Regions from separate parts of the Homo sapiens genome. Here all the other regions are linked to region 3. Evidence: promoter capture Hi-C in 16 types of primary human blood cells and fetal thymus (Javierre and others, 2016). All regions are on one chromosome and are shown on one strand. The core of a region is centred on a gene start or on the middle of the fragment in contact, and the rest is flanking DNA. Distances in the headings are between cores, read along the strand shown.

What was found. Contacts are between HindIII fragments. The CHiCAGO score rates a contact against its expected background, and 5 or more counts as called.
Region 1: a contact is called between a fragment that was not itself captured here and the fragment with the promoter of RAPH1 in region 3, in 1 of 17 cell types (M0 macrophages). The highest score is 5.3, in M0 macrophages.
Region 2: a fragment that was not itself captured here is called in contact with the fragment with the promoter of RAPH1 in region 3 in 1 of 17 cell types (monocytes); the score reaches 5.0 in monocytes.
Region 4: a fragment that was not itself captured here is called in contact with the fragment with the promoter of RAPH1 in region 3 in 3 of 17 cell types (non-activated CD4 T cells, total CD8 T cells and naive CD4 T cells); the score reaches 5.3 in non-activated CD4 T cells.

What each region holds. Positions count from the first base shown.
Region 1 is chr2:203,784,925-203,787,985 of GRCh38, reverse strand. No RefSeq gene overlaps it. Among named protein-coding and RNA genes, the nearest start is that of CD28, 80 kb to the right of the region's middle. The HindIII fragment of the contact is 2,570 bases long and covers 399-2,968 here.
Region 2 is chr2:203,687,389-203,690,451 of GRCh38, reverse strand. No RefSeq gene overlaps it. Among named protein-coding and RNA genes, the nearest start is that of CD28, 18 kb to the left of the region's middle. The HindIII fragment of the contact is 2,782 bases long and covers 415-3,063 here.
Region 3 is chr2:203,533,849-203,536,635 of GRCh38, reverse strand. It overlaps RAPH1 (Ras association (RalGDS/AF-6) and pleckstrin homology domains 1), which reads left to right and starts at 1,335. Exons shown (of 14, transcript NM_213589.3): 1 at 1,335-1,525. RefSeq lists silencers at 1,187-1,256, 1,307-1,396, 1,467-1,566. The HindIII fragment of the contact is 18,695 bases long and covers 1-2,787 here.
Region 4 is chr2:203,745,479-203,748,418 of GRCh38, reverse strand. No RefSeq gene overlaps it. Among named protein-coding and RNA genes, the nearest start is that of CD28, 40 kb to the right of the region's middle. The HindIII fragment of the contact is 3,216 bases long and covers 1-2,928 here.

The DNA.
Region 1 (3,061 bases), core at 434-2,933, 250 kb before region 3:
TCTGAGTTAGAAAGGTACTAGTGACTTCAGTTGAGACAACCTTCTCCTTTTCCACTTTTTCAATTCCTTGGCCTGCTTAAACAATTTCTTTGGCTCTTCTTTCCATAAGCAACCTTGCTACCTGACAGAAGTGGGTTATGGGGCATATCCATGATTTTAACTAGCTCATGAAGAACCTCCTCTTTTCTTTTATTAAATCTGGAGGTTATTTCTCGAGCAATTAACTCATGGTGATAAAATATCCAGCAATATACTTTTCACCAATCTTTAGAATAAACGTAAAAATATTTAGATTTTGTCATCTGTTTTTGTTGCTCTGTATGAAATAGGATTTTTAAAGGAAGCTTCAACCTGGTAGTCATAAATAAATGACTAAATTAGCTTTGATTTTAGAAGCTTATATTGATGCTTGCTTTTCTGAAAAATTCAGTTTCTAAGAATATGCAAGTTAAACACTTGAATTATAGTGGTCAATATGGATTTACAATCGCAAAGCATAACTAGTTTCATGGCCTACAGAAAGCCTTTTTCTAGTCCTTCCCTTTTGACATAAATGCAGAACCTCTGTGTTGTAATATTAAATGGAAACATCCCAGAAAAATAATCCTCCAAGTTTGTCCAAATTGCTGGTTTGGCTTTAAGATCCAACAATTTTCTTTCAGATGTACCCTAGGGTACAACGAATTGTCATGGGGTTTTCCACATGCAGAAAAGTTTCAAAGTTGCAGATTGAAAACCTCCATTGAAACAAATGCATTATGTCACTTGAAATAAGAGCATCTGTACATACTTCACAAAATAATTTTCTTTGTTCAGCAGAGGAAGGCCAGATGATGCAATATCTAGCTTCCAGCTGCGCCTTCCTCACTGGCAATTCAGCCTCTTTTAGCGCTATTTGAAAGACTCCTGACCACTTACTGTGCAATTTTGATGTGCTTACACTCAATTCTTCATCTCATCACTGACAAGGAATAGGGAACAGAAATTGTATGAGAATGCATGTGTCCACAAAGCAACAGAACGATGGTTATCTTTCCCTCAGGCATTATTTTTTAAACACAAACAGCACCAAAGGAAGAGGGAAATCAGTCAGAGGCCTTGGGGATTCAAATGGAGGAAATCCTCCTACAGGATGAAGCTACACATCCTATAGAAAGTACACAAACAGCATTGTAAGCTGGATGTTGTTATATTTCTCTGAAGTTTTACCTTTTCCAAACTCTTTAAACCATGAATTGTTTTATTCTGCCAAAATAGATGAGCTAATAATTTGGCTGCCTGCTATTAAGGGAGGTTAAAAGACAAGCAGAGAAAAGTCCCGTAAATAAAACATAACCAAAATATTTCCGTTGATTTAAATATAGTCTTAGCACTTTAGAATTGACAATACTATCAGGGCCAAATGTTGAATAACAAATAATCAAAATAAGAGTGTTGAGTTGAAACAGCTGTCAAATCGGCCATTTAATGAAGGAGAAAAAAATGTTACAATTGTTTCATAATGTGAAGACATCTGCATGTCTGATAAAATTTTTAACTTTTCAAATTGGTATGGAGGGGAGCATTATTATTGATTGCCATTGTCTAGCCTTTGATAGTTCTGAATCTAGAAAACTGGACTTTTACTTATTTTCTGAAACTTTGCCCCAAGATAGATCTCTATGCTCCGGTATAACAAAAAAAAATTTTAATAAACAAACAAGATTCATGGCTTCGAAATGTCTTATATGGACCTTCAAATGCTTCATGGTGCACCACCACTGGTGGGATGTGTCCTTCGTTTAGACTCTTAGAAGCAATCAGGTGTTTTTCCCTCTTACCCCTGCCCTCTGACCTGCATCCTATTGAGAGATGACAGCGTGCTGGCAGTCCTCACAGCCCTCGTTCGCTCTCGGCGCCTCCTCTGCCTGGGCTCCCACTTTGGTGGCACTTGAGGAGCCCTTCAGCCCACCACTGCACTGTGGGAGCCCCTTTCTGGGCTGGCCAAGGCCGGTGCCGGCTCCCTCAGCTTGCAGGGAGGTGTGGAGGGAGAGACGCAAGCGGAAACCGGGGCTGCGCGCGCGGCGCTTGTGGGCCAGCTGGAGTTCCGGGTGGGCGTGGGCTTGGCGAGCCCTGCACTCGGAGCAGCCGGCCGGCCCTGCGGGCCTGGGCAATGAAGGGCTTAGCACCCAGGCCAGTGGCTGCGGAGAGTGTACTGGGTCCCCCAGCAGTGCCGGCCCACCGGCACTGCGCTCGATTTCTCACCGGGCCTTAGCTGCCTTCCCGCGGGGCAGGGCTTGGGACCTGCAGCCCGCCATGCCTGAGCCTCCCACCCCCTCCGTGGGCTCCTGTGCGGCCCGAGCCTCCCCGATGAGCGCCACCCCCTGCTCCACGGTGCCCAGTCCCATCGACCAGCCAAGGGCTGAGGAGTGCCGGCGGACGACACCTGGACTGGCAGGCAGCTCCACCTGCAGCCCCGGTGCGGGATCCACTGGGTGAAGCCAGCTGGGCTCCTGAATCTGGTGGGGAAGTGGAGAACCTTTATGTCTAGTTCGGAGATTGTAAATACACCAATCAGCACCCTGTGTCTAGCTCAGGGTCTGTGAATGCACCAATCGACACTCTGTATCTAGCCACTCTGGTGGGGCCTTGGAGAACCTTTATGTCTAGCTCAGGGATTGTAAATACACCAATGGGCACTCTGTATCTAGCTCAAGGTTTGTAAACACACCAATCAGCACCCTGTGTCTAGCTCAGGGTTTGTGAATGCACCAATCAACACTCTGTATCTAGCTACTCTGGTGGGGCCTTGGAGAACCTTTGTGTCTAGCTCAGGGATTGTAAATACACCAGTCAGCACCCTGTCAAAACAGACCACTGGGCTCTACCAATCAGCAGGATGTGGGTAGAGCCAGATAAGAGAATAAAAGCAGGCTGCCCAAGCCAGCAGTGGCAACCCACTCGGGTCTCCTTCCACACTGGGGAAGCTTTGTTCTTTCGCTCTTTGCAATAAATCTTGTTACTGCTCACTCTTTGGGTCCACGCTGCTTTTATGAGCTGTAACACTCACCGTGAAGGTCTG
Region 2 (3,063 bases), core at 556-3,055, 150 kb before region 3:
TTCTAAATCCTATAAGACAGACCAAGAAAGACAAAGGAGTCAGGCAGACAGAGAGGAAAATATCGCTGATAGAGGGCTACCCGAGAACGTGGCTGAGCCGTGCAGTCACAACAAGCACCCCAGAATTATTAGGCAGACCTACCCACCCATCACAGTTCTTGCCCAGAAACCACAGGTCCCACCTCCAGGGAGAGAGTCTTTACCACTAAGCTACCACATGGCCCAGAGCAGGACACTTGCTTTCTGCAGGGAGGCAGGTCCCCAAGGTGGGAGCAGGTGGCAGCAGGAGGCAGAGGGAGAAAGACTGAAGACATAAGCAGTAGAGGATAATTTGCAGGAGAAAAAAACGAGGCAATGAGAAATGGCCCTAGGACGCCAGATAATACTTTAGCATTCATTAAACAGGAGCAAGCTTCCTTTGAGACTATCACACTTGTCTAGGAAAACAGAAGTTATAGCAGTTATACATTAACTAGCGTTGATCAGGCACTTTTCAATTCACACATGTTATCTCACAGAACTACTGTATAGGAGTAATTATTATTATTCCATTTGATAGATGGAAAGATCTAGTAAGTAGCAGAAAAGGATTCAAACACAATCCTTCCAGTCTAAGATTGTAATCTTGGAAAAGCTGATGGATTCTTTGACTCTGGCTTCTTGCTCTTTGCGATTAAACCATCACTTCAGAATGAGCTTCCGCCAGACTGTGTGAATGAGTGAAAGGGGCATTATCAGAAACCATCGTTCGGTTTGTGTGGTGGAGGGTGGGAAGTGGAGGATGGGGGTGAGTGAATGGCCTCATTTGCCACCAGTGTATGTGTTCCCTTTTCTCTGCCACTTTGCCAACATCTGTTATTTTTTGACTTGTTAATAATAGCCATTTTGACTGATGTGAGATGGCATCTCATAGTGGTTTGATTTGCATTTCTCTGATGATTAGGGATGTTGAGGATTTTTTATATGCTTGTTTGCTGCATGTACGTCTTCTTTTGAGAAGTCTCTGTCCTTTGCCCAATTTGTAATGGGGTTGTTTCTTTTTTGCTTGTTGAATTATTTAAGTTCCTTATAGATTCTGGGCATTAGACCTTTGTCAGATGCAGTTTCTGAGTTTTTCTAGTTTTAAATTGTCTTGTGATACTAAGAAGAATTTTTATTTGATTAACTGGAGACAGACCCTGCTTGCAAGTTCAATTTCTAAAATACCTGAAGAAATGAACAAACATTTCTTCTTCCCTCTCTCTTTCCTCCCTTCAAGCTGCAGAAATAGAAGCATTTTAATTTCAGCAGAAGGGAGTGAAGGTGGAGTGTTTACTCTGGGTCCACCCTCAGACATTTGGGAAACAAGGCTAACTTCTCAGGGCTTGCTGGTGATGCTGTGTCTCTATTGAGAAATTCGGACTTCCTAAAAATAGCAACCATAAGGTGCTGAGCAATGAGGGGTGGCAGACAGGCTAGTGATTTGCATTCCGCTTGCAGATGTTGTCCCAGAGGACTCTGAGGCTACCGCCCAAGGGAATAGGGAGGGCTCTGGCTGGCTGAATGGACTTTCTCCAGGTCCTAGAGGTCAGAGTTTCGAGAAAATTATGTCCATTCTTTTCCCAGATCTCTACTTAGGGAAGGTTTATGGAAATGCACAATATGTACCCAAGATTGTGGGTTTGTTCTCGCAGATCTCTCTCTAAGCTCTCTAGATCTATTACTGTCTTTTTATTTCTCAGAAATTCAGTCTACAAGCTGGACAAAGTTATGTATGTGTTTCTGTGCAAGCATGAGGTTAAGTACTTATTGCCTTTTCCCTTTTTCTACTCAGTCAGTATGCAAAAAAAGTCTCATATGAAAGTGGATATGCGGGCATTTTGTCCCCAACATTCCTCTTACATCCACCTGGCAAGACTATGTCCAATAAGTCTGACAGCTCTTAACCTTTTTTGTGTCAGGGACCCCTTTGGTGGTCTGGAAGCCTAAAGACCCCTTCTCACAATCATGTTTTGAAATGCATAAAATAAAATACATTGGATTGCAAAGAAAACTGAAAGTTTTGAAATGTAGTTTTCAAATATTTTTTTAAAAACAAATGTTCATGATATAGTAATAAATATGCTTCATTAACATATTAAATCTAGCTATGGTATGATAACTACCATAATTTTTTTTTTTTGAGACAGAGTCTCGCTCTGTTGCCCAGGCTGGAGTACAGTGGCACAATCTCGGCTCACTGCAAGCTCCACCACCCAGGTTCATGCCATTCTCCTGCCTCAGCCTCCCAAGTAGCTGGGACAACAGGCCCCGCCACCACGCCGAGCTAATTTTTTGTATTTTTAGTAGAGACGGGGTATCACCATAGCCAGGATGGTCTCAATCTCCTGACCTCATGAGCCACCCGCCTCGGCCTCCCAAAGTGCTGGGATTACAGACGTGAGCCACCGCATCCAGCCGATAACTACCATAATTTTGAAGTAGTGGTAAGCATAAGTAATATTTTGAGATACTTGGAACAACTATAATGTGACATGAAAATATCTGTGATTCTATTGATGACAAAGTGACAAGTACTGCAAAAAATACTGTGGTTTGTTACTTAAATATATCATTGAAATGTTAAATTTCAGTTGGAGAGGATAATGAAAAGGAAGGTATAATTTTTTTCTCAACCAAGTTTACATTGGACACCTAGTTAAGAACCCCTGAATACATTAGTATATCCGGTTCCCATCAGCATCTCATCTACCCACACATGGATGGCACACACACATACACACTCACAAACACACACACGCACACTACTGCATTCCCTATGGTCTCAATACTGGAATCTGGCAGCATTTTAATGACAACCATAAAGGACACTTCCCAGATGGTTTATGCAGTGAAAGATCAAGGAGCAGAAAGGGCAAATAACATTGTAGACCTCAGTAGCAGAATTCTCTGTAGCCTCCAGTTCCAAATACTAGTTGGGTGTGGATGGCCGCTCCCAACCATGGTTTTCTCCTTTCCTCATGATACCTGGACCAGAATGATAAGCTCTGCAGTTTCACATGTACTTGTTTTACTCCCACATTT
Region 3 (2,787 bases), core at 86-2,585:
AAGGGCAGTTATGTTTCAAAAGTACAGATATCTCAAGTGTGAAAGGCAGCCAGTATCTGTATTGTATGGTTCTAAATACCAATTTGAAACAGATTGTGTACCAGTTTGGAACAGATTGTACAAAAAAGACTGAAACCACTTGAAAGTCCTCAAGAATATCAGGAAGTAAGAATGTAATTAACCAAACCAGGATTTGGCCCCAGGACAGAGAAATGAACACTCTCATTCTTAGAGAGGGAGCTAGGATTTCAGGAATGTACAGTCAATGCTTTGTGAAAATTTAAATAAATTCTTAGCAAGCAGATGGGAAGACATGAAAAAGCAATGTTCATTGCAACCAATTTCAGGTCACACTCCCAATTTCTCAATTGTTTTAATGCTGTCAACAAACTTGCTTTGCATGTAGCCAAGCAAACATAACTTAGTTCCATTTGTTCCTTTCTTTGATCAACTTTAGGTGAAGGTCAAAATAAGGACATACTTAAAATCTAAAAGTCTGCCGAAGTCAAGCCTGCATCTAAAGAGGCAGCAGCTGAGCTTAGCGATAAGGAAAAATGCCGACACCTTACTACTACACAATTCCGATGGGGTGGGGGGACAGAAATTAAGGAGGCAGGATTAACAGATTTCGAAGTTTAAAAAGTAAAGGTCATCGAAATGTCCCGTTCCTAAGTTTCCCAATACATTCCATGAAACTGCAGAGACTTTTTGGCCAAAATGGGATTTCCTAAAGAAGGGCCTCACAGATCTCAACGACAATGGTCCTGTAAGTGACCGAGCCAACCCCGGATGCGTTTCTGGAGTCTCTGAATACACGGACAGCGTATAAAGGTGGATGCGTACAGCTCCCTGACAGAACTGCTGGAGGCTGCTGTGCCTCCCAGGGCGCTAGGACAGAGGCTGCTGGGCCGGCTTCCTATGAAAGGCGAGCAGGGGGTGGGGCAGCACTGGGATTTTCCTCCCCACTCATTCATTCTCTGATTCACTCGTTCCTGTAGGCGGCTCACAGGGACTTGCGGAGGAAAGGCGAGGCACGAGCGGAGCCGCGGTTGAGTGCGGCCGGGCGCGGCCGGGCGCCTGAAGGGAGGGCGGAGGGCCGGCGCGGGGCGCGGGCTAGGGAAGGGCGGCGGGCGCGGCGGCCTGCGCCGGAAGTGAGTGGTTGGCGGCGGGCGGGGGCGGCGCGCGGTCCCGCGCGAGTCGGCCCTACAGTCGGCAGTCCGGCCCTCAACCCCGCCTTCTGCGTCTCGGCTGGACGCGAGCACACTCGGCTCCGCCGCCGCCGCCGCCGCCGCGGGGCGCTGCGGCCGCCCCGCCCCCGCTCCCGCCGCCGCCCGCCAGTCAGTCAGTCAGTCAGTCAGTCAGTCAGTCAGTCAGTCACTGAGCGCGCGGCGCGGGAGCTGCTGGCAGTCGCTGCGTCTCTGGCGAGGGAGCGCCGCGCCTGGGGAGGAGGCGGAGGCAGCGGCTGGAGGAGCGCGAGCGGCGGTTTCCTTGCCCGGGGCCGCGGGAAGGCCGACCGACTGCCGCGGTGAGTGGTTAGCCTCGCCCTCGGGGCCAGGGGGTAGGGAGCCGGCTGGGCGCGGGGCCGTGAGGCGCTCCTGCCGCTCCCGCCTCCATTTTCCCGGCGCCCGGCCCCGCCATCCGGGTGCGGTACGGTCGGCGGCAGCCTGGGGCGGGGTCGTTGCCAGGTTGGGGATCGGGCCGGGGCTGGCTGGACCGCTCCCGGCTGGTGGATGGAGGTCGGTGGGGCCTGGACTGCACCCTGCGCCCCTGGGGACCGCGACGGAGGGAGACAATGAGATAAGGGGCCGCCTGGGAGGGTGCGGTTAGGCTTCTCCGACCCAGCACCGGGGGCTGGTGGCCCGGGACCGCAGGGAGGAAAGGACTTTCCCCCGCCCAGCTGCAGAAACCAGCTACTGGATGTCGGGTTGCTTGGGTTTCGATGCCCCCATCTTTCATAGATGAGTTCAGTGCAGAGATTTTGAAAGGCGGGGCTCCTTCTGTGTCTTCTTTCTAATTAAACAGGATAAGTAATTGCTTCATTGCTTTTTAACCGCGTCTCCTCTTGCGGTCTGTATTATACATTCCCGCCGGAAATCCAAACTGCAATTCATGGGGGGGGGGGGGGGGTGGACGGAGGGAGGGGGCAGTGTGATAGTATTAGGATGCCTTCGTGTTAAGACAGGTTGAAAGATGTGGTTTTCTTAAGGCAGTGACTTAGGGTGTCCCCACTGTGTGAGCTGGAAACCGCATAAACCTTATTGCTTACAAGCTCGAAGACATGGTTTAATATGAAATAAGAGCCTTGAGGGAGGGTGTAAGTGTTACATGTGTCTTGCGTGTGTGCATTTCTTAAATTCTTTGGGAAGATCCGTTGGGGAAATCCGGGAGAATGGAAAAGTTCTTCACTCAATCTTCCAATAAGGGTTGATGTTGTCTGCAGCATTTCTCAGGGAAATGTGGAGAGCTGCTTATGTAGGTAAAGTCCACCGTTAAGGAACAGTAAAGGTAACGGGTTAGGGATGAGGCGTGATCGGATTATTAAAGAGTCAGTCCATGGGGATATTAAATTCAGCAAACATTTATGGAATACCTACTCTGTCAGTTAGGCTGGGTGACACCAGGTGAACAAGCATGGGGTGGTGGAAAGAGCTCTTCGGAGTGGGGGAAACCGTACGCCCTGGAATTGGCTTGCAATGTGAGTTGGATAAGCTATTGAACTCTGCAGTACGTTCCCTATCAGTAAAATGGGAATAACACCACCTGTTTACCTCCCCAGATGTTTTTCAT
Region 4 (2,940 bases), core at 71-2,570, 210 kb before region 3:
GGTAAAAGGCTCTCTCATACGTGACTGATGGGACTGTATATCAATATAACCTCTGTGCAAAGCAAATTGGCAATATTTCTAAAAATTAAAAATGCAAGTACTCCTTCTCAAAGCTATTCTATTTCCCACAAGTTTGAAAAGCTGTGTATTGCTTTTCAGGGCCAGATTGGAATTCCAGTCCACAATAGTCTTTCACCTCTGAACTTGAATTGTATATCATTTAATTAGAGCTTAGTATATACTACCTTTATGACGAGTTATTTCCCCAACCAAGTAGTAAATTGCTAAGGTCAAAACTCTGTCAAATCTCTTTCTGTCCTTCTCAGTCCCCATCACTAGACTGAACACATGTGTGGCCAGTTTGTGTCCTTTTCATAGGACACAAGCAGGAAATCCCCAAGCCATTCTAGAAGCTAATGTGTTATCCCAGGGCCCCCAGAGAAGATCAATGTTGCTGGAGGTGCCACTGTCAGAATCAAAGACAGACTGAAAGGATGAAGATCCAGGCCCAGTACATCTACTTTGGTCTTATGATAACATTTCATTATTAGAAAATTTTAAATATAAGTATACTTTGAATTTTTAAACGTGACTTTTTTTTTTTTTGAGACAGAGTCTCGCTCTGTTGCCCAGGCTGGAGTGCAGTGGCGCCATCTCGGCTCACTGCAACCTCCGCCTCCCAGGTTCAAGCGATTCTCCTGCCTCAGCCTCCCAAGTAGCTGGGATTACAGGCACGCACCATCACGCCCAGCTAATTTTTGTATTTTTAGTAGAGACAGGGTTTCACCATGTTGGCCTCCATCTCCTGACCTCGTGATCTGCCCGCCTCAGCCTCCCAAAGTACTGGGATTACAGGCATGAGGCACCACACCCAGCCTAAAATATTATTTTACAACTACAAAAACCAATCTCCTCTACAGGCCGCTGGAGTTTAGGCCAGCATTAGGTAACACAGGGGTAGAAAGAGATCACTGAACTAGGAGAATCATGGAAGATTTTACTGATATGTTGTATTTTATATTACCAGGAAGTGAGCCAGTGTTCTCATTTTTCACATACATACTTTAATTCAAAATACAAATATTGGCTGGACTTGGTGGCTCATGCCTGTAAACTCAGCACTTTGGAAGGCTGAGGCGGGCAGATCACTTGAGGTCAGGAGTTCGAGACCAGCCCGGCCACATGATGAAACCCCATCTCTACTGAAAACATACAAAAATTAGCTGGGCGTGCTGGTGGGCACCTGTAATCCCAGCTACTTGGGAGGCTGATGCAGGAGAATTGCTTGAACCTGGGAGGCAGAGGTTGCAGTGAGCCACTGTACCACTGCACTCCGGCCTGGGTGACAGAGTGAGACCGGGTCTCAAAACTAAAAATAACAGAAAAATACAAATAATTTGGTTCCTTCCTGGAGGTGCTCCTTCTCAGCAATGTGTATGACAAAAAGAAGGGAAGAAGAAAATCTTGATGATCTCTTGTGGGGGTCTTTGTATCCTCTGCTGTTCTGTGATTTATAATGCTTCCCAAAGAAGCAAATTGCCCAAATTTCATATGTCAGTGGACGTGGATATTGTCCTAAATGTGGTAATAACATTTAGTTATTCAGGGTTATCAGTGATTAATAATTGAACATGTCAATAGAACAAGATACTATTGAGTCAAATTCTTTGTATCCCCCAAATAATAGAATATATTAGTATTTATACACATCAATAAACATGAAGTTATCAGAATGCTTTAAACTTCATGTAATAGAAAATCTAACCCAAAAGGGCTTAAACAATAAAGTTATTTACTGTCTCACATGACAAGAACTGGAAGGAAGGAAGGGAGGAAGGAAGGAAGGAAGGAAGGAAGGAAGCAAGGAGAATTCAAGTCGGCTCAATCTGCAGCTCAATAATGTCACCAAGATCCAGGTTCCTCCCCTCTTTCTGCTCTTCCTGCCTCAGCATGTTCTCAGGCCAATTCCTCCCCTGGTCGCAAAGAGGCTATATCAGATGCTGCTTGCAGACATAACATTCTATAGCAGAAAGGAAACTTTGTTTCCAAACATCTCTTTTTAAAGAGCAAGGAGAGGCTGAGCACGGTGGCTCACACCTGTAATCCCAGCACTTTGGAGGCCGAGGCAAGTAGATCACTTGAGGTCAGGAGTTCGGGACCAGCCTGGCGAACATGGTGAAATCCTGTCTCTACTAAAAATACAAAAATTAGCCAGGCATGGTGGTACATGCCTGTAGTCCCAGCTACTCAGGAGACTGAGGCACAAGAATTGCTTGAACCCAGGAAGCTGGAGGTTGCAGTGAGGTTGCAGTTAGCCAAGATGGCACCACTGCACTCCAGCCTGGGCAACAGAGTGAGACTGTCTCAAAATAAAAAAAAGAGCAAAAAGAAACTTTATCAGAGACCCGTCAGGCTATTGGTCAGAATTTTATCATGTGTCCATGCCTAAACCAATCACTGATGAGAAGGTTAGGACTACCATTCTGGCTTAAACTAATCCTTATCCACTCCCTGGAACTCCCCAGAGCACATGGAGAGTAGATAACTGAACACAATTAGAGTTCTGTTTGTTGCCAAGGAAGGATAAACAGTTTTTGCTTCTGAATGCCTAAACAATGTCTTAAAATGCATATTAATTAATACATTTCAATAATTTTAAAAATATGAATTTCCCAAGTCTTTTCATAGTATCTAGTTAACTAATTTGTCCTCAATTTTCCCAAGTCTTTTCATAATACCTGTTTCGTCTAATTTGTCAAAAACCAAAATAGCTTGCGGATATTTATCAAATGAAAGATAGTCATTCATTTATCCATCCATCCATTGATTCACTCATTAAGATATTCTGAGCACCCATCACATGCAAGATGTAGTTCACTATGAAGACTTCAATAATGTATAAGAAGTTTATTTGGAAAATGACAAGCTTTAAAAAATGAT